Regions from separate parts of the Homo sapiens genome. Here regions 2, 3, 4 and 5 are each linked to region 1. The links are contacts of gene promoters, found by promoter capture Hi-C in blood cells and fetal thymus (Javierre and others, 2016). All regions are on one chromosome and are shown on one strand. The core of a region is centred on a gene start or on the middle of the fragment in contact, and the rest is flanking DNA. Distances in the headings are between cores, read along the strand shown. Region 1 holds the start of DDX1 (DEAD-box helicase 1). Region 2 overlaps LOC105373436 (a long non-coding RNA gene). Region 3 overlaps LOC105373436 (a long non-coding RNA gene). Region 4 has its middle 3.3 kb from the start of MSGN1. Region 5 overlaps GEN1 (GEN1 Holliday junction 5' flap endonuclease).

Region 1 (4,045 bases), core at 492-2,991:
GTCCTGCATAATATGGGTCTTGTATCTCTCCTTGGAATGTGGGGGTACTTGGTATCCATTCAAAACTGGTACACTGCATAACTCTCAGGGTCTTATTTAGACAAAATATAACAAGAATAGAGAATATAATGTGAATAGTGCCCCCTGGAAGTGTAAAGCTGCAGGGCTGAGTGTATTGTCCTGGGCCTTTGGAGCTTCAGGTGAATCCTGTTACATGTAATAGTAATAACAGAGCTAGTTATATTGTCACCATGTGCTATGCACTATTTTAGATGCTTTATGTATTTTATTTGATCCTCATAACTATCATATGAGAAAGGTACTATTGTTCATCCCTATTTCACAGGTAAGTAAACTGAAGCCCAAAGAAGCTTCATGACTTGTTCAAGGTCACACAGCAAGCAAGTGGCAGACCTAGAATCCAAACTCAGAATATGGTTCCCAACTCTGTACTTCTAACCCTATTCTATCTTTTTTATTTTTTATTTTTTTGAGACAGACTCTCCCTCTGTCGCCCAGGCTAGAGTGTAGTGGCACGATCTCAGCTCACTGCAGCTTTCGCCTCCCAGGTTCATGTGATTCTCATGCCTCAGCCTCCGGAGTAGCTGCAACCCTATTCTTTTTTCTTTTTTTTTTTTTTTGAGACGGAGTCTCGCTCGGTCACCCAGGCTGGAGTGCAGTGGCGCGATCTCGGCTCACTGCAACCTTCGCCTCCTGGGTTCAAGCGATTCTCCTGCCTCAGCCTCCCGAGTAGCTGGGACTACAGGCATGCACCACCACACCCGGCTTCTTCTGTGTGTGTGTGTGTGTGTGTGTGTGTGTGTATTTTTTGTAGAGAAGGGGTTTCACCGTGTTAGCTAGGATGGTCTCGACCTCCTGACTTCGTGATCCGCCTGCCTCGGCCTCCCAAAGTGCTGGGATTACAGGCGTGAGCCCCCGCGCCCGGCCGCTGCAACCCTATTCTATCTTGCCTGAGGGTTCCACTTTTCTCCATGACACTCTGGGGCAGGCTACAGATAGCACAGCACGCGCCCTCGCATTGCGCAGATGTGGCTCAGATCCCACGCTGCCATTCGGTAGATATGTGTCTTTAGATAAGTGACTTAACTTTCCCGAATTTTAGAGTCCTCATCTAAAGATTCTAATACCTTCCTGACAGAGTGAGTGTCTGGTTGGGAGGATTCCTCATTTACTTTCCCCATCTCTCTGCAAAGAGAAAGGAGTTAAAATTGCATGGAAGTCAAACCCGAAATTATAAAAGCGACATCAAACATGGGTGAAGGGAGGGAGACCTAAATCATTACTTAGTTTAAAAAAAAAATGTAACAAATACCTACTGGCTGCCAGGCACTCACTGGCATTGGTGCTCAGGGCAATGAATCCAGTCCATCTCTCCGGGTCATTCACACACCAAGGCCCTGCTCACCTTTGGAAAGCTGGGGGACTGAGTGGGGAGGGCACGGTGTGGTGTCAGCCTGAGCCCACTGGATGACCCTAATCACCAAACATCTGCTTCCTTCTCTGTAGCTGTGACCCTGATACCGCGTGGTGTGCTCCGAACACATGGTGCCCAGAACGAAGGCGGCGTCCAGAAGCCCTAGGTCCCAGAGGTCCGCTCAGCGGCAGGCGCATAAGGCGGGGCCGGCGCGGGCCTTTCCTTCCATCGGAACCGTTCTCCCGGGGCTGAGTCCCTGCCCGGACTCCGAACGCCGAAGACCAGGGGCCGGAAGCGCGCGCCGCCACTGCCACGCCGTGTCAGTCGGGAGGGAGGGAGCGAGCAGGCGAAGCCGCGGAGGACGGGGTGAAGATGGCGGCCTTCTCCGGTGCGTTTGTGGAAACTCTGGGGGTGGTGGGGCGGCTTGTTGCACGCCTCAGCCCTGGGGCCGCCCGCGGAGAGCTAAAGGGGCGGGAGCGGACAGGGGTCAGGGAGACAGAAGGGCGCTGTCCGCTGCAGTCCCTGATGGACCCGCGTTGCGGGATCAGGGGCGGCCGCGGCTCGGGTTCGGAGGACGATTCTTCCCAGGAGCGGGCCGGAACGTCCCTCCCCCTGCCCTTTCCCTTCTACCAGTCTCCACTTGGCTTTCCTGCCAGTGCACCTTCGGCTGCAAAATCTAGGCGGCGGCGTTGCTCTGGCGGCTCCCAGACGCCTGGGCCTCCTGCCTCTTAACGTGGCAGTGACCCTTTGGGAACCCTTTTCTGCCCGCGGCTCATCTGGGCTTGGCCAGGCAGAGAGGCGAGACGGCGTGGGGAGGAGTCATTGGGGAAAAATGACGATCCTGCCTCTGTCCAGTTTTTTCAGGCCCTTCCAAAACGTCCCAGGCATAAACCTGATCTTTATTTGTTCTTAAACGTTGTTATATCAACATTAATGTTCAGTGTTGAAGCTAAAGGGAAAGCATTTTCATTAACGTACGCACCAGTCCAACATAAGTTTGGAAAATTCATATTTATTTGCCGTCTGCTACCCTCCTTTATTCCAAATATGATTTGATATGGCTTATCGAACCCTACAGTTGATATTTTCGCCTCTTGCTTTATCATCCTCCTGTTAGGCATCCAGTTTTAGGAAGCTGTAATCAGCCTTAAATGCGCTAAACGTGATACATTTATGTAGCACTTATGTAACGTTTATTGCTATATAAATGTATCACGTTAGGCCTAATGTCCTTTAATGTTATTAACTTTTTAAGATGACTTCAGATGTAGTATTTTATATTTTTTAGTTTTCTTCTGTAAGAATATTAGGAATTCCATATCTCCAGTCATGTAAGATATTTTTTTTCTTTTTTGGGGGGGAGAATGGGGGGGTGGGGGGATGTAGTCTCCTTCTGTCGCCCCAGCTGGAGTGCAATGGTGTGATCTTGGCTCACTGCAGCCTCCACCTCCCAGGTTCAAGCAATTCTCCTGCCTCAGCCTCCTGAGTAGCTGGGATTACAGGCGCCTACCACCATGCCCTGCTCATTTTTGTATTATTAGTAGAGACGGGGGTTTCACCATGTTGGCCAGGCTGGTCTCGAACTCCTGACCTCAGGTGATCCGCTCACCTCGGCTTCCCAAAGTGCAACAGTCATGTAAGATTTCTGACTGTTTCAGTTACATCTTCTAATAGGATTCAATTGGAAACTGCTCAGAGTTGTTGCTGTTTTTCTTTTCCCAACATTCTCCTAAAACGATTTTAGAGCCAAGGTCTGTAGGATAGTTCTAGGTAGTCATTTTATAGGTTCACATCTTTGGGAGTCATACACAAATTTCATGAATGTTAGAGGTAAAGGACTGGAAAAAGTCTGTGATATGAAATAAGACAAAACTGGAATTTCACGAATGTTTCTAATTTTTCCTTAACTGTTAAAAGTATTATACTTAAGGTCCGCTTTCAAAGAAAACTTGCAGGGAACATGACCAGAATGGTACAAGAGATTGTCTGGAATTTACTGAAAATGATATGTTGTTTCTTGTATAACAATTTTGCAAAGAGCTTCAGCTTGCAGTATTCCGTATGCAGTAAGAACACACCACTCCTTTGTTTCAAGCAGTTTGCATTTTAGGAGAGAGAACATAGACTGTAATACAGGTTAATTCTTAGGAAGGTCTGCCTGGATATTCAACTTTAGATCTTCATTAGTTTATCTGTGGCTTTTTTTTTTCCTGAGATTAAGAGCTAGGAAAGTCGCCAGGTGCAGTGGCTTATGCCTGTAATCCCAGCACTTTGGGAGTCCAAGGTGGGCAGATCACGAGGTCAGGAGATTGAGACCATCCTGGCTAACACAGTGAAACCCCGTCTCTACTAAAAATATGAAAAAAAATTAGCGGGCGTGGTGGCATGCGCCTGTAGCCCCAGCTCCTCGGGAGGCTGAGGCAGGAGAATTGCTTGAATCTGGGAGACGGAGTTTGCAGTGAGTGGAGATCATGCCCCTACACTCCAGCCTGGGTGACAGAGTGAGACTGTCTCAAAAAAAAACAAAAGAAAAGAAAAAAAAGAAAAAGAGTTAGGAGAGCCTTCTTTGAAAATGATGATCCTTCTCATCTGATGCAAAGAAAAAGCTAC
Region 2 (4,045 bases), core at 532-3,031, 2.6 Mb before region 1:
TCATGTGTGAACAGGAAGGAAATTTTCTTATTTGTGTCACAAGGAAATTCAGCCAATATTCACTTTAGTTATTTCAGAGCAACACTTGCAATCCTTCTAAATATGAAACACCAAATAATGTATGTATTTATTCCCATACTCTGAGGGAGACTGAATATGAATAATTGGGTCTCACATTGGAATAATTGAATTCTAAATTAAAAGAACTTTACAGTAATAAATGAGTCTAATAAAATAGTTATTTTGAACCATCTATTTTTAAAGAATGCTTGGGGTATTGCTGATATGTGTAACAGGAAGAACTTTTGAAATTTTGCCCAAGGCATAGGATTGTAATGATTTTTCAAGGACCTCAATATCCATAAACATTAATGATCCTATAGAACAGCCTGGACTCCTTAGTCCAGTCAAAAGATAATAGACTTTGTCTTCATAAGTATGAGTTTAAATGCATACACCTTCACTTACTAGCCTACTACTTTGGGCAATGTATTAACCTCTATGAGTCTCGTTCTTAAATTGTAAAAGGCACATAATATACATTGAAGGATTAATATGAAGACTATAAATAATATGTTACCACCATGTTCCTGACCCTGCCAGTGTGTATCAATATCACATTTTCTTTAATACTCTAATGATACTAGTTCTATCTTGCCAAATTAACAGAAACTCTAGTCTCTTTCCCAAAGCGCAATGCCCTCAATATTTCTGAGAATCCCTAAGTTTGCCTATACTTGTCCATACGTCAGACATTCTTATTGTTTCTTTGTTGCCACTTGTCAAAAATGCAGACTCTGATAAAGTCTTGCAATAGGACCCAGTTGCCAGATCGTCTTTTACCAGAAAAATTCATTATTTAGTCTCAGGTCAAATCCAGCTGCTAGTTCACCAGATTTTGTGGGATGCCAGTGCCTCTGATCCTAGTGGTGAAGCTCTAGCAGCCTGCAATGATCTGGCTGTTACTATGCTATTCACTTCCACTGGTGCCTCTTACAAATCTGATTATTTACTCAGGTTCTATCAGTTCTCAAGCTATAAGAATTCTATCACGACTAAACTGCCGAGGCCCTAAGTGGATTTTTAAAAATTTGATGTGTTCCCTCAATTACTAATATACTTTGCATCTATAGATTTGCCTATTCTGGATGTTTCCTATTAGCAGAATCCTACAATACATGGTTCTCTGTAACCAGTTTCCTTACTTCGGAATTTGGATAAACGTTTAAATGTTTCATCTAAGAAACCACTGCTTAATCCAAGGTCACAAATATCCCAATGTTTTCTTCTGAGAGTTTATAGTTTTATCTCTTCTATTAAATTCTTTAATGCATTTTAAGTTAGTTTTTACATGTTGTATGAAGTAGGTATCAACTTCATTCTTTTGTATGTGGATACCCAGTTATCCCAGCACCATGTGCTGGAAATACTACTTTCTCCTTGTTTCCCTGTGGAATATGCTGTCAAAAATCCATTGATTGTAAATGGGAAGGGTGAATTATGGACCCTCAGTGCTTTGCCGTTGATCTGCATATTGATCCTGATGCCACTGCTACACTGTCTTTATTATTGTAGCTTTTTGGTACGTTTTGAAATAGCAAAGTGGAATCCTCCTACTTTGTCCTTCTGTTTCAACATTGTTTTGGCTACTCTTGGTCACTTGAATTTATATATGAATTTTAGAATAAGCTTGTCAATTTCTGCAAAAGTTCAGCTAAGATTTTGATAGGAATTACATTGAGCATATAGATGAATTTGAGGAGTATTGCTGTCTTAAAATTATTAAGTCATCTCATCCATGAATATAGGATATATTTCCGTTTATTTAGTTTTCCTTTAATGACTTCAAACAATATTTTTAGTTTTCAGAGTATAAGCTTTGCACTTCCTTTGTTAAACTTATTCTCTTGGATGCTATTTTAAAGAAATTGTTGGAGCAGCCAAGACGGCCGAATAGAAATGGCTTTGCTCTGCAGCTCCCACCAAAAAGGATAAAAACAGTGAGTGAATTCTGCATCTTCAGTTGAGGTACCAAGGATCGCTCATGAGAACCAAGTGGTTATGGCGACCCACGGAGAGCGAGGAAAAGGAGGGTGGAGCAAGGGCTCACCTGGGAGCTGCACGAGGCAAAGGGAGCTCCTTCTTCCAGCCAAGGGAGGCGGTGAGGGATTTTGCTCCTTCTCCCTGAAAACCCCACTTTTCCCACAGATCTGGCTGGAGGAGATCCCTCCTGATTTGCAACCTGCAAATCAGGCGGTCCCCTTGTGAGCCCACACCAACCAGGATTCTTGGCTCCCAAGCATAGAGCAGTGCAGACTCTTGGCGGCTGCTCAGGTAGGCGGCGGCTGGAGCAGGCACTGAGACCCCGAGTTTCCCAGGGGGCAGGGACAGCCACCATCACTGCGCCTCTAGTCGGCTGTTTTCCCCTGCCGCCAGCGCCAGCGCGGTTTGTACTGGGAGCAATTCCCCACAGTGCAGCACAGCGGCTGGGGCAGTTCGTGGCTGGACTGTTTCCTTAAGCAGGACCCTGATCCACTCCCCCTCACTGGGTGGGACCTCCCTGCAGGAAATTCAGCATCCCCAGGCAGGCATTTATGAACAAAACTCTGATATCCCTGAGAGGAGCCCCTAGGAGGAGGTGCAGCTGCAGTATCATGAATCTTAGTCTTATCTGCCTGCTTACTGGCTCTGGAGAGTCAGGGCAGCCCAGGCAATGGCGCAGCACACCTGCTCCAACTAGGGGCAGTCAGATTGCTTATTTAAGCAGGTCCCTGATCCCTGTCCTCCTGACTGGGTGAGACCTCCCAACAGGAGTCTCCAGACACCTCATACAGGAGCGTTCCAGCTGGCATCAAGTCTGTGCCCCTCCGGGACAGAGCTCCCAGAAGAAGGAGCAGGCTGCCATCTTTGCTGTTCTGCAGCCTCTATTAGTTATATTTTCAGGAGCAGGAGGGACGCAGGAAAACAGGGTCTGGAGTGGACCCTCAGCAAACTGCAGCAGCCCTATGGAAAAGGGCATTGACCGCTAAAAGAAAAACAAAGAGAAAGCAACAACAACAACAACAACATCAATGAAAAAGACCCCACAAAAACTCCATCCAAAGGTCAGCAGCCTCAAAGATCAAAGGTAGATGAACCCAAGAAGATGAGAAAGAATCAGTGTAAAAGTGCTGAAAACTCTAAAAGGCAGAGTGCCTATTCTCCAAATGATCACAACACATCTCCCTCAATGGCACAGAACTGGGCTGAGGTTGAGATGGTTGAACTGACAAAAGTAGGCTTCATAAGATGGGTAATAATGTACTTCACTTAGCTAAAGGAGTACGTTCTAACTTATTGCAAAGAAGCTAAGAACCATGATAAAACATCAGAGGAGTTGTTAACCAGAATAACCAGTTGAGAGAGGAACATAGATAACCTGAAGGAGCTGAAAAACACAACGTGAGAACTTCACAATGCAAACACAAATATCAATAGCCGAATAGACCAAACTGAAGAAGGGATATCAGAGCTTGAAGACTATCTTGCTGAAATAAGGTAGGCAGACAAGATTAGAGAAAAAATAATGATAAGGAATGCATAAAACCTCCAAGAACTATGGCATTGCATTAAAAGACTGAACTTACAGCTGATAGGGGTACCTGAAAGAGACAGGGAGAATAGGACCAAGTTGGAAAACACACTTCAGGACATTATCCAGGAAAACTTCCTCAACCTGGTAAGATAGGGCAACATTCAAATTCAGGAAATTCAGAGAACCCCAGTAAGATACTCCATGAGACGATCAACCCCAAAACACATAATCATCAGATTCTTCAAGATCAAAATGAAGGAAAAAATGTTAAGGGCATCCAGAGACAAAGACCGGGTCACATATAAATGGAAGTCCATCAGACTAACAGCAAACCTCTCAGTGGAAATCCTACAAGCCAGAAGAGATTGGGGTCCAATATTCAACATTCTTTAAAAAAGAATTTCCAACTTAGAATTTTATATCCAGCCAAACTAAGCTTCATAAGCAAAGGAGAAAATAATCTTTTTTTTT
Region 3 (4,045 bases), core at 861-3,360, 2.5 Mb before region 1:
TTTAATTTCTCTTTTGCCTCAGGAACCAGAAATCATTCTATAGTGAAAGCTCAAAGTACATGGGTGAATTTTTTGTTGTTGTTAGTCTGCTCTGAAAACCTACAGTAGACAAAAGTCCAAGCTTTGCATCTTATTGTACAAGTTTACATGTACTATCTAATCTAACATCATATGTGGATGCATCAAAGTGGGAGGAGGAAGTTAATAAACTAGGCTTGTCCAAGCTCACTCAATGAGTTTGGGACATACCTGAGAGTGGAATGGGAGCCTCTCTGGTACAGGCGCAGCTAGAATTTTGGCCAAATTTTATAAACTTCTCAATTGGACCAATTAAAAATGTGCTTTCTTTGTGCAGATGCACTACACAAAGTGCTCTTCTTTTGCCAGCACAGGCTGAGCAGAGCTGGATTTCATTCCTCACTCACCCCTTCATTTGGGGGCCTTCTTGCACCTCTAACCTGCACATCCTTGGGGGTAGCCTGAGGCCTTACTTTCAAAGCAGGCTTTCTTCTTCACCTTTACTGTATTTAGCTTTGATGGCTAGTTCTTATTTTCCATAATGTCTCATTTCCCTCACACAGGGAAGAAATTTTAGAACTTTGAGAAATAATAGTTGCTTATATTTATCAATAATCATTAAACAAGTTATTATCTAGCAAGTATCTATAGTGTCTATCTAATACCTAGCAAGGTACTAGGCACAGGAGGCAGTGCAACTCCGATGATTATATTAGTAGAGACTGGGTTTGGATTCTGTCTCCACCCCTTCTGGCTGTAAGACTTTAGACAAGTTATGTGAACAGTAATCATTCCTCAGAAAGGTTCATTTTAGTAACTAAGATATAGGATTATAGGGGTTTAAAGGACTAATGCACATGAAGCCTGTTATTTTGAAAACACCTAAAAAAGGTGTTTGACAAACACAAAACATTAGCATTAATTATTATGCTTTTAATGAATGAGGTATAGAAACAATAAGACACATAGGCATCAAAAATAAAGAATTTATCATCTGATGAATCCTACTTTAAGTGTTTTGGAAACAATTATTGTGTAACTTCCAAAGATTATTCCAAGGATTATAAGAGATTTTATTAATAACACAAAGAGAAGCGGCAATGAAACATTTCTTCTTTGTCTTCTTCATTTATTCATAGACACACAATTATATTTTTTAAATCGAATTTTGGCAAATATGGTTGGATATATTTGATACTCAAGATAAGAAATTGTCCATTGGCTTCTATTAATTCCAGTAGGAATAATATGATATTTAATCTACTTCTATGTGTATATGTCTATGTGGATGTATGAAAGAGAGAGAAAGGAGAAGAAAGTTCTGAAGTACTTTTAAAATTTTTTCATTCAATCTTTGTCCTCTGTAGGGACATGGATGAAGCTGGAAACCATCATTCTCAGCAAACTATCACAAGGACAAAAAACCAAACACTGCATGTTCTCACTCACAGGTGGGAACTGAACAAAGAGAACACATGGACACAGGAAGGGGAACATCACACACTGGGGCCTGTTGTGTAGTGGGGGTAGGGGTGAGGGATAGCATTAGGAGATATACCTAATGTAAATGATGAGTTAATGGGTGCAGTACATCAACACGGCACATGTATGCATATGTAACAAACCTGCATGTTGTGCACATGTACCCTAAAACTTAAAGTATAGTAAAAAAAAGAAAATAAGTAAATCTTCATACTTCCTGCTCAGAGAGAATTAACTTAGACTCTGCTGTTAATCTCTCTCTTCAGCTCATTAATTTTATACCTGCTGGGATCATAAACATTTTTAGAAATTAAATCTGAGTGGTATTAGTCTCAAGAAAGAAGATTTTCCGTTTTAAAAAATCCAGACTCTGAGATGATATCTATGGCTATCAAGTTTCTCTGTATGAAAGATTCACCTGTAAAATTGAATAGTTACTGCAGAAGGTGCCAATACATTGCCTGCAGGGATGTTGAGCAGTCCCCATGAGAGGGGCTGGTTGCCATGGCTTTGCTCTGAGTATTATTATTTTAGAAAACTCTTCCAAGGCCCTGGGTCTTGCTTTTGTGATGATGGGTTATTAGAAACTGACTTGTCAGTAAACCCAGTTCAAATCTATCTTCAGGACTGCTTCAGATGGACTTACCCGAGGATACTGACCTATGGACAAGAATGCCAATTTATATATTTGCACTAAAAAATAAGAACTGTCCAGAATACGAGGAGGCTGACATTCCCACGACGTGTGTCGTCCTTAAGTATTGGCAAACTGTCCTGGAACACTAAATAATCAGGAGAGGATTTGATTTTGGAGTGAGAATGAGGGAACTGTCTCCTTACTAGTAGGGTAGATTCCAGGAAGTGGATTTACTATGTCAAATGGAATTAACCTGGCTAAAAGTGACAATAAAAGGGCCCATCTTTCATTTCTTTTGGTAAAATTGAGATTGTAATTTATCTTATAATTGTTTTGAAAACTACAAATATATATCATTACACGTCTATCAGAATAGCTGAAATAAAAATATGACAAAACAAAATGCTGCTGAGAAGGTGGAGAAACTAAAGCCTTACACAGAGCTGGCGGAGAGCACAGTCACTGGAAAACAGTTTGGCAGTGTTTTAGAGGACTAAATATGTAATTATCATATGTCCCACTATTGCACTTTCGGGTATTTATCCCAGAGGAATTCCAAGTTATGCTCACATGAAAGCCTATACACAAATGTTCAAAGTAGCTTTATCATAACAACCAAACACTAGAGATGACCCCTATGCACATTGCATGGTGCAGCCACGCAATGGAATACTACTCAGAAATGAAAACAAATTGTACTGTTGATACATGCGGCAACTTTTATGAGTCTCTAGAAAATTAAGCTGAGTGAAAAAGTCACTCCCAGAAAATGATATACTGTATGATTCCATTTATATAATATCCTTGAAATGACAAAATTATAGAGATACCTGTGGTGATAGAACTACTCTGCATTTTTTTCTTAATTTTTAAAACTGATACGTAATGATTGTACATTTTTCTGGAGTACACGTGATATTATGATACAAGCATACAATGTGTAGCAATCAGGATAAATGGGATATTCGTCACCTCAAATATGTATCATTTCTTTGTCTTGGGAACATTCCAAATTTTTCTACTAGCTACTATGAAATATAAATTATTATTAATTATAGTTATCCTACTGTGATATCAAACACTAGAACTTATTCTTTCAATTTAACTGCATTTTTGTACCCTCTCTTCATTGCCCCACTTGCCTCATACCCTTCACAGTCTTTGGTAGCCACCATTTTACTGCCTACCTCCATGAGATTTACTTTTTGAGCTCCTACAAGTGAGTGATAACATGTGATATTTGTCATTCTGTGACTGGTGTATTTCACTTAAATAATGACTCCAATTGCAACTATGTTGCTGAAAATGACAGAATTTCATTCTTTCTATGGCTGAATAATTTTCTATTGTGTATGTACTATATTTTCGTTATCCATGCATTCATTTGTGGACACCTAGGTTGAATTTTGGCTATTGTGAATAGTGCTGTTATAGACATGGAAGTATAAGTATAGCTTCTATATGCCAATTTCCTTTATTTTTAATATATACTCAGCAGTGGGATTGCTGGATCATATGGCAGTTTTATTTTTAGTTTTTTGAGGAACCTCATACTGCTTTCCATAGTGGCTATACTAATTTACATTCCCATCATCAGTGTATGAGAGTTAATCTTTACTCACATTCTCACCAGCTTCTGATTTTTTTTGTCTTTTTAGTAATAGCCATTCCTAATGGGATGAGATGATATCTCATTGTGGTTTTGATTTGCCCTTTCCTGATGATTAGTGAGGTCGAGTATCTTTCATACACCTGTTGATTATTTGTATGTCTTCTTTTGAGAAATGTTTTTTCAGATCCTTTGCCGATTTTTTAATTGGATTATTTGTTTTTTTGTGTTTGTTTGTTTGAGTTTCTTCTCTATTGTGGTTATTAATCCCTTCTCAGATGGATAATTTGGAAATATTT
Region 4 (4,045 bases), core at 678-3,177, 2.2 Mb after region 1:
CCAGCACAAGATTTTTGTTTGTTTGTTTTTTTGAGATGGAGTCTTGCTCTGTCACCAGGCTGGAGTACAGTGGCACGATCTCGGCTCACTGCAATCTCCGCCTCCCAGGTTCAAGTGATTCTCCTGCCTCAGCCTCCCAAGTAGCTGGGATTACAGGCACATGCCACCACACCGAGCTAATTTTGTATTTTTAGTAGAGACGGGGTTTCACCATGTTGGCCAGGATGCTCTCGATCTCCTGACCTCGTGATCCACCCACCTTGGCCTCCCAAAGTGCTGGGATTACAAGCATGAGCTACAGCACCCTGCCCCAGCACAAGATTAATAATTACAGCAACATTAGTTACCACACTTACAGTTTACAATGTGTAAACCTGCTAAAAGCGTGTACTCTATAAGGCAAGTATTAGTATTTCAATTGCACAGATGAAGATGAAGCTGAAGCTGAGAAAGATTGATTCATGTGTCCCAGGTCACAATAACAGAGGAGGAAATGTAAGATGTGACAGGTTTGACCTGGCTCCTATTCCTGCACTCTTGCCACTACCCCCATGTTCTATCTGTTCACCGATGTTCAAACAGCCACCAAAGTACTAAAAATGCTAACATTGCAGAGGAGGCACATCACAGGGGCTCCCAGGGCCACTGCTTGAGGAGGGTGCACCCTGCACAAAGGTGCTGGGCTGAAGAGGCAAGCAGGGCTGAAATAAGCCTTAGCTTGGTTGTTTTGTAATTTGCACAAAGGAGCCGTATGGGCTGGTAATGGCATGGAACCACCGGTGGCCACAGCTTAAGGAATTCCATCAGCCTCTTGATTTCTGTTTTCTGTCTATCCTTTGAGCACTATTTGCCAATTTCCTGGAAGTGGCTCTGCCTCAAGAAAGCTTCCTGGCTCTTAAATGTAGAGTTTACAATCCTCTGAGGCCAGTGTGAAATGCCCAGTTGTCCTGACTGTTGTCAGGAACATGACCAGCATTCCCTCAGAAGCTCATCATTCTGAAAATTAGACACAGACCACTTATTAATATGTATGGCAAATCTGGGATCCTCCTTAGTGAGTGTAGCTACAATAAAAAGGTCAATATGAAGGCCTGGGATTTGAGAGATGAAACAACCTGTACCTTTGTCTTATACTTTGGAAAATAGGACCTGAACATTTTTCAAGGTCTCTTGAGAGTGGGCCTCAAGGTTGGGGGCCTCTTTTCAATCTGTCACAGTCATAGTCACAATAGCTTATAAATATCTGTTGCTTGAATGACATTTGAAGTAAAATATTTATCCCAATAAATCAGTAATGTGGGAAATACGTAGTCTGCCTGATGTGAATACTTTGCAATTAGTCCTATTAGTTTCAAAGGAAGAAAAAGGACAGATATGGGAGGCAGGCAACTTTGGCTTTTCTCTTTCCATCTCTGCCACAGCCTTTGGGTATGACATTGAGCAAGTCATTCACCATGTGTAGAATGCAGATTTAAAGAAATGATGGACTCAATGATATCCCCAAATGCCTTCATGCTGGTACAGTGCTCTTTTAACCAAGCATATTCACATGGTAGTAACATGTTTCATGGCATTTTGTAGCTAGACGGGAGTTTAATGATCCCTTGGTACACCCTCCTCATGTAATGAATGCTCTTGATAAAGAAGACAGAGCAGGCTGGGCACGATGGCTTACTATAATCCCAGCACTTTGGGAGGTGGAGGCGGGTGGATTACTTGAGGCCATGAGTTTAGGACCAGCCTGGCCAACGTGGTGAAACCTTGTCTCTACTAAAAATACAAAAGTTAGCTGAGCATGGTGGCACACACCTGTAGTTCCAGCTACTTGGGAGACTGAGGCATGAGAACCACTTGAATCTAGGAGGCAGAGGTTGCAGTGAGCCTAGATGGTGCCACTTCACTACAGCCTGGGCCCTGCGTCAAAAAAAAAAAAAAAAAAGAAGAAGAAGAAGAACACAGGAAAAGTGTTATTACCTCCTTTTACGCACTAAAATACTTAGGCTGTGAGGGGTGAGTCACTTGCTCTAAAGGAGGCAAGTTCTGTCTCATCCTTCCACAACACCATGCTCTCAGCCAGATTTTACTGGGTCCAGTGTAAATTTTGCCTGTCTGGTCTAGCCTTATCCAGTGTTCTGTTGCTTTGTTCAAACTGGAGACAGAAAAGCACCAGCTAGTGTCTGCCTAACTATAGCCTTCGAATGTCTGTACTGCAGTGTTACATTGTCCTTGACTTTTATTTCCCTCAGATTGAGCACAGAATGCTTCTCAGATAGATGCAAGTCTGGTTCTGCTTTATTTCTTACCAAAGAGAGAGTGCACATCAAGAAACATGAAAACCAGGCAGCTTCCTTTCTCCAAGAATAGTTTCAGGGGCCAAGAAGGCTGGGAAACTGGGGTCAGGAGCAGAAGAGTCACAGCTCGGTAAGTCATTCTGTTGCTGGTGGGTTTGACAACACTCAGTCAATAACAATAATGACAAGAACTACATTTATTAAGTGTCTACAGTGCACTAAGGATTTGACAGATATTGTCTCATTTAGGAAACGAAATTTCTAAAAATGGAAGTTCAAGAAATTAGCAGTTTTAGAAAGAAGCTGTGGGAAAGGGAAAAAAGAGTTATGGAGTCTGAGAGCAGAAGCAGTGTTACGTGGAAAACTGTGAAGTTAGAACACAAGGATCGAGAGTCTGCCATGGCAGCGGCCCCCACAGCTGCCTTGTGTCCCCTGGGAGTTCCCTCTCTGAGTCACACTCAGGCCATCTGCCTCTACCACAACCCATGAAAGAGTGAAAATAGATTTTAAAAAAAGAAAGTGAGCTTTGGGGTCTGACAAGGAATCTTTGCTCTACCACTCCCTAGTGACTCTACCACTTCCTACCCGGGAAATCTTAACTGAGTTTCTTCACATCTGAGAGTCTCAGTATTTTCATCCATAACATGTTGGTCTTTTTGTTTTTTGTCTTTTTTAAAAAGAAGCTTAATCATATAAGTTCCTTGAACTCACACAAATCAGCAAGAAACAAACAAATAATTTCATCAAAAAGTGGGCACATGACATGAATAGACATTTCTCAAAAGAAGATATCCAAATGTCCAACAAACATGAAAAAATGCTCAACCTCACTAGTTATCAGGGAAATGCAAATTGAAACCACAACGAGATACTGCCTTGCCCCAGCCAGAATAGGTTTGTAATAAACAAAGTAAAAAAAAAAACCCAAATGTTGGCATGGATGTGGTAAAAAGGGAACACTTACATACTGCTGGTGGGAATGAAAAGTAGCACAACCTCTATGGAAAACAGGATGGGGATTTCTTAAAGAACTAAAAGTAGACCTACTATTTGATCCAGCAATCCCACTACTGGGTATCTACCCAAAGGAAAAGAAGTCATTCTATCAAAAAGACACCTACACGCATATGTTTACTTCAACACAATTCACAATTGCAAAGATACGGAACCAACTAAGTGCCCATCAACCAACGAGTGGATAAAGAAAATGTGATATATATACACCATGGAATACTACTCAGCCATAAAAAAAAGCCAATGAAATAATGTCTTTTACAGCAACTTGGATGAAGCTGGAGGCCATTATTCTAAGTGAAGTTACTCTGGAATGGAAAAATCAAATACCATATGTTCTTACTTATAAATGAGAGCTAAGCTATGGGCATGCAAAGGCATGCAGAGTGGTATAATGGATTTTGGAGACTCAGAAGGGGGAGGGTGGGAGGAGAGTGAGGGATATAAAAAACTACATATTGGGTACAATGTACACTACTCAGTTGACATGAGCACTAAAATCTCAGATTTCACCACTATACAACCCACCCATGTAACAAAAAAACATTTTACCCCAAAAGCTATTGAAATAAGAAAAATTAAAAAATATATAAAATTCCTTGCATAGTATCAGCAGATTCTGGGCTTCTCAACAAGAATTGGAAGAGAGAAGAGAGAGGAAAAAGGAGCAAGAGTCATTTGTTACATTTATTACAGTCATTAATATTATTATTTTTCAAAATCCGGCTTGGGGTTCTTCA
Region 5 (4,045 bases), core at 543-3,042, 2.2 Mb after region 1:
GAACGTAATGGATGCAGATTATGTAAAAGTGATAAATATTGTGAGCCACATGACTATGAATACTGCTGTCCTTGTGAGTGGCACCGTACAGAACATGATAGGCAACTCAGTGAAGTAGAGAACAATATTAAGAAGTAAGTTTTTTTAAAAACTCATGATTTTTCCTGGCATGACCTATACACATACCTTTGGTTGAATTATTTCCATATAATCTTTCCCCATATCTAGATTAGTCACATGTTTAACTAAATTTTTTTTTCATTTCTGTTCAAAAATTTAGCTAACCTAGGAGATAGTAATGTAATAGTTATTCAAAGGGAAGCTTGACTGTTTGGGATACTGTAAATTCACATTTCTTATTAAATGGGAGGAGATTGGCTGAGATGATTTCAGAGTCTAAAATTGTCTGATTATAGTAATAACATGTATATAATTTTTTTTTCAGGAAAGCTTGCTGTTGTGAGGGATTCCCATTCCATGAGGTAATATCCAGTAATTCAACTCTATTAATTTTAGAAACTTTCTTAAAAGTTTAAATCTCAGTTTCTATTTTCTTTTTTCTTGCTAGGTTATTCAAGAATTCCTTTTAAACAAGGATAAATTGGTGAAGGTTATCAGGTACCAAAGACCTGATTTGTTATTGTTTCAGGTATCTGAAAATAAATTCTTCTTTACTGTATGAAGTTATATGCTGGAAAGATAGGAACAGATATTCACTCTGATTGGTCTTAGAGGAGGTTTAAAATTAAAACAGGCAGCTCTTATATTTTTTCAGCATTTATTTCTACTCTCTCATTTGCCATACAGTGGCCATCTTTGCACACTATAAGACAAAGTATAGTTATGCTGTTTTAGAAGATGCCTTAATTAGCATATGTGGATATATTGCATCCATGGATATTTTGGGGGAAGAGGGTTTAATAACAAGAGAATGTTAAGATCAAGTATATAATTATGGAAGGTAGTATCATTTACAAAAACATTGATATCTGAAATTAATGACCTAAATTTAAATTTGGACCGTATTCCACCTACTGTGTGACCCTGGATGTGTGTTATTCTCAAAACAGAAATAATATTACTTATCTCATAAAGTCACCATGAGGATTAAATGAGATTATTTATATTAACTCCTAATATAGTGGCTAGGGACACGGAGTGGCTCAATAAATTGCAACAACTGGGTACTTACAAGTACCAGCTGTAAGTAATGACAGCCACATTAAGAACGACAGCCACATTAATAATGACAGCCAACATTTGTTAGACATTTAAATTTGCTGTTATGTTTAATGCATTGCATGTAATCTCAATCTTTGTAATCTGTGAAGTGGGTTGTAATATTTTCACATTACAGATGGTAAAACTGAGGCTAAGAGAGTTTAAGTAAGTTACCCAACATCTAAGAAATATCATCCTGGCGTTCAAACCGAGAGCCTTCACTCTTAATCATTATGCAATAATGATTCTTCCTTAGGAGGCTCATTGTTTCTAGAATATTCTCATTGATACTACTTTAACTTACGTTAATTCTAAAGGAAAAAATATTAATATCACCTAGGAGTGCTATTTGTCTCCAAGAGATAACAAAATCTTGTTTTATTTTTATTATATTTATAGAGATTTACTCTTGAAAAAATGGAGTGGCCCAATCACTATGCATGTGAGAAATTGCTGGTACTTTTGACCCATTATGACATGATAGAAAGAAAGCTTGGTAGCAGAAACTCTAATCAACTACAGCCAATTCGGTAATGTAAAGAACTGTATGGTGAAGGTGGTGTTTTTACTTGAGTATTTTATAATTAAAATATTCCTAATATCTTTAAGCTCGTTTTTGTAAAGGTGGAGGAAAGGCCTCCTGGAATATTAAAAGCTTATTCAGGGCTTATAATCAGAACAACATAGTAAGTCATGCTTTATCATACTTTTCTACTTCAAACACATAGTAATAATAGATTATAAAAAGAAACAAGCATAAAAGGATATAGCCAGGCTTTATAAGACAACTATTTCAGTGGACCAGAAAAGGAACAAACGTGTTAAGGGAATGTGGGAACTAAAACTGGTTTTGCAGAGCCTTAAATCTAGAAGCAGCCGTATCATCCAGGAGGTAAATCGCTTCAGAGAAAAAAAAAAAAATGGGGACCAAAAGTGCAAGATGTTGATGGAGTCAGGCTTATTTCTTGAAACCCAGTAGCTAGGGTGGAATTTCTCTGTTCCTATCAGGAGATTAGAGGCTGGGGTAGATAATAAAAAACTAACCAAATGCTGCCTGAAGCCCAGAAAGCCCACTGGAAATTACTCAAAGAGACTAGAGAGATAGAAGTGAAGACAGATAAAATATAAAAGAATTGAAGAAGAAAGCTTAACATATAAAGAAATATAATATTTTTAAAATCAACAATTGCGTCATGAATTCACTTCGGATTAAATTAAGTTTTAAAACAGTCTGACAGGTTTTATGCAAGGGGTGGGTGTGGTTGGCCTTTCAGAATGCTAGAATCCTCAAAAAGATGAAGACATATGTCTGTAAGCAACAGAAGGCAAAATTATAAAAATGTGTGTAAATGGATGGATATAAAAAGTGAACTATTAGCTTAAAAATAGTTGTTGAAATAAAAAGCAATCAAGGGGTCTCTAGGCTAAACTTGGTCCAAAAAAATTAGTGATTTGGAAGACAAATCAAGTCACACAGAAATGATCTCAAAGACTCTCATATAAAAAATGCTTAAGAGTAGTTTTGGATTAGTTCCTAGAAGCTAATAAAAGAAAAGGTTGAAAAGTAATTTTTGAAGAGATGATGTCTGAGAGTTTTCCAAAATTTAAGACAGATAGTTATACTACAAATTATAGTCGCAATACATGAAATACCCAAGGCATATTGTAGACATCAACGATAAAAGGAATATTTTAAAAAGTACCAAACCAATCAGGCAACAATCATCAATGGATGTTAAAACCATTAGATGAAAGATTGCTGCAGAGAAAGGATAGTCACAGTCTCAAGTACCGCTCTACAGATTAATTACAAAGGAAAAATGGTATCTTCAAAAGTGGAGAAATCCAGTGGACATCAGTTTAACTCAGTGATTAATTACCAATAAAAGAACAATAGACTGCTTTCATATGCTTTCTAATACGTTAAACTGAGAAAGATACTACATTATCATATAATATTTTTGCCAAAAAAGCTTGAGCTAGGTGGGGCGTGGTGGCTCGCACCTGTAATCCCAGCAGCATTTTGGGAGACTGAGGCCGGTGGATCGACTGAGCTCAGGAGTTCAAGACCCATCTCTTCCAAAAATACAAAAAATTAGCCAGGCGTGGTGGAGAGCACCTGTGATCCCAGCTACTTGGAAGGCTGAGTTGGGAGGATTGCTTGAGCCTGGGAGGTGGAGGTTGCAGTGAGCTGAGTTCATACCACTGCACTCCAAACTTGGTGACAGAGTGAGACCCTGTCTCAAAAAAAAAAAAAAAAAAAAAGGAAAGTTTAATCTGTATCTAATCATGAGGAAACAATCTAATGAATCCAAGTGAAAAACGTTCTGTGGAGCTATTATCCTGGACTCTTCAAAAATAAAAAATATCTAGGTAGTTTTCTGGATTAAAATAAAGAGACAACACAATTCAAGAAAAATGATCCTGATTGAATTCTGAATTGTTTTTAAGTCATAAAGGACCTTTTTTTTAGGACAATTGGGGAAATTTGAATATGGTCTATATTGTATCATTGTTAAACTTCCAGAGTGTGAAAGTTTTTTGTGGCAATGTAGGAAAATACTCTACATAGACAGGCTGCAGTATTTAGGGGTGATGTGCCATGAGACATGTTTGCAACTAACTTGCAAATGGAGAAAGCAAATGTGATAAAATGTTAACAATTGATGAATCTCAGTAAAAGTATGTGAGTATTCATTGTACTATTTTTGCAACTTTTATAAAGGTTTGAAATTTTTCAGAATAAACAGTTTGCTGGGAAGTATAAAAGAAAAAAGATCAGCTATCTGATAGCACACATCTTTCATAACCGTAATAGATGCCA

What was found. Contacts are between HindIII fragments. The CHiCAGO score rates a contact against its expected background, and 5 or more counts as called.
Region 2: a contact is called between a fragment that was not itself captured here and the fragment with the promoter of DDX1 in region 1, in 2 of 17 cell types (endothelial precursors and M2 macrophages). The highest score is 18.9, in endothelial precursors.
Region 3: a contact is called between a fragment that was not itself captured here and the fragment with the promoter of DDX1 in region 1, in 1 of 17 cell types (endothelial precursors). The highest score is 6.6, in endothelial precursors.
Region 4: a fragment that was not itself captured here is called in contact with the fragment with the promoter of DDX1 in region 1 in 1 of 17 cell types (total B cells); the score reaches 8.5 in total B cells.
Region 5: a contact is called between a fragment that was not itself captured here and the fragment with the promoter of DDX1 in region 1, in 1 of 17 cell types (total B cells). The highest score is 5.2, in total B cells.

The regions. Positions count from the first base shown.
Region 1 is chr2:15,590,127-15,594,171 of GRCh38, forward strand. It overlaps DDX1 (DEAD-box helicase 1), which reads left to right and starts at 1,742. Exons shown (of 26, transcript NM_004939.3): 1 at 1,742-1,823. The coding sequence starts at 1,808. LOC124905975 (a long non-coding RNA gene) reads right to left here and starts at 1,643. Exons shown (of 2, transcript XR_007086224.1): 1 at 1,334-1,643; 2 at 1-1,206. RefSeq lists an enhancer at 1,781-1,840. The HindIII fragment of the contact is 5,190 bases long and covers 370-4,045 here.
Region 2 is chr2:13,037,858-13,041,902 of GRCh38, forward strand. All of the region lies in intron 1 of LOC105373436 (a long non-coding RNA gene), which reads left to right. Among named protein-coding and RNA genes, the nearest start is that of MIR3125, 300 kb to the left of the region's middle. The HindIII fragment of the contact is 188 bases long and covers 1,688-1,875 here.
Region 3 is chr2:13,059,564-13,063,608 of GRCh38, forward strand. The region is part of intron 1 of LOC105373436 (a long non-coding RNA gene); the gene reads left to right. Among named protein-coding and RNA genes, the nearest start is that of MIR3125, 320 kb to the left of the region's middle. The HindIII fragment of the contact is 3,982 bases long and covers 120-4,045 here.
Region 4 is chr2:17,811,121-17,815,165 of GRCh38, forward strand. No RefSeq gene overlaps it. Among named protein-coding and RNA genes, the nearest start is that of MSGN1, 3.3 kb to the right of the region's middle. The HindIII fragment of the contact is 2,090 bases long and covers 883-2,972 here.
Region 5 is chr2:17,772,651-17,776,695 of GRCh38, forward strand. It overlaps GEN1 (GEN1 Holliday junction 5' flap endonuclease), which reads left to right. Exons shown (of 14, transcript NM_001130009.3): 8 at 1-134; 9 at 446-482; 10 at 569-649; 11 at 1,621-1,751. All of the region lies in intron 3 of LOC105373449 (a long non-coding RNA gene), which reads right to left. Among named protein-coding and RNA genes, the nearest start is that of GEN1, 21 kb to the left of the region's middle. The HindIII fragment of the contact is 163 bases long and covers 1,712-1,874 here.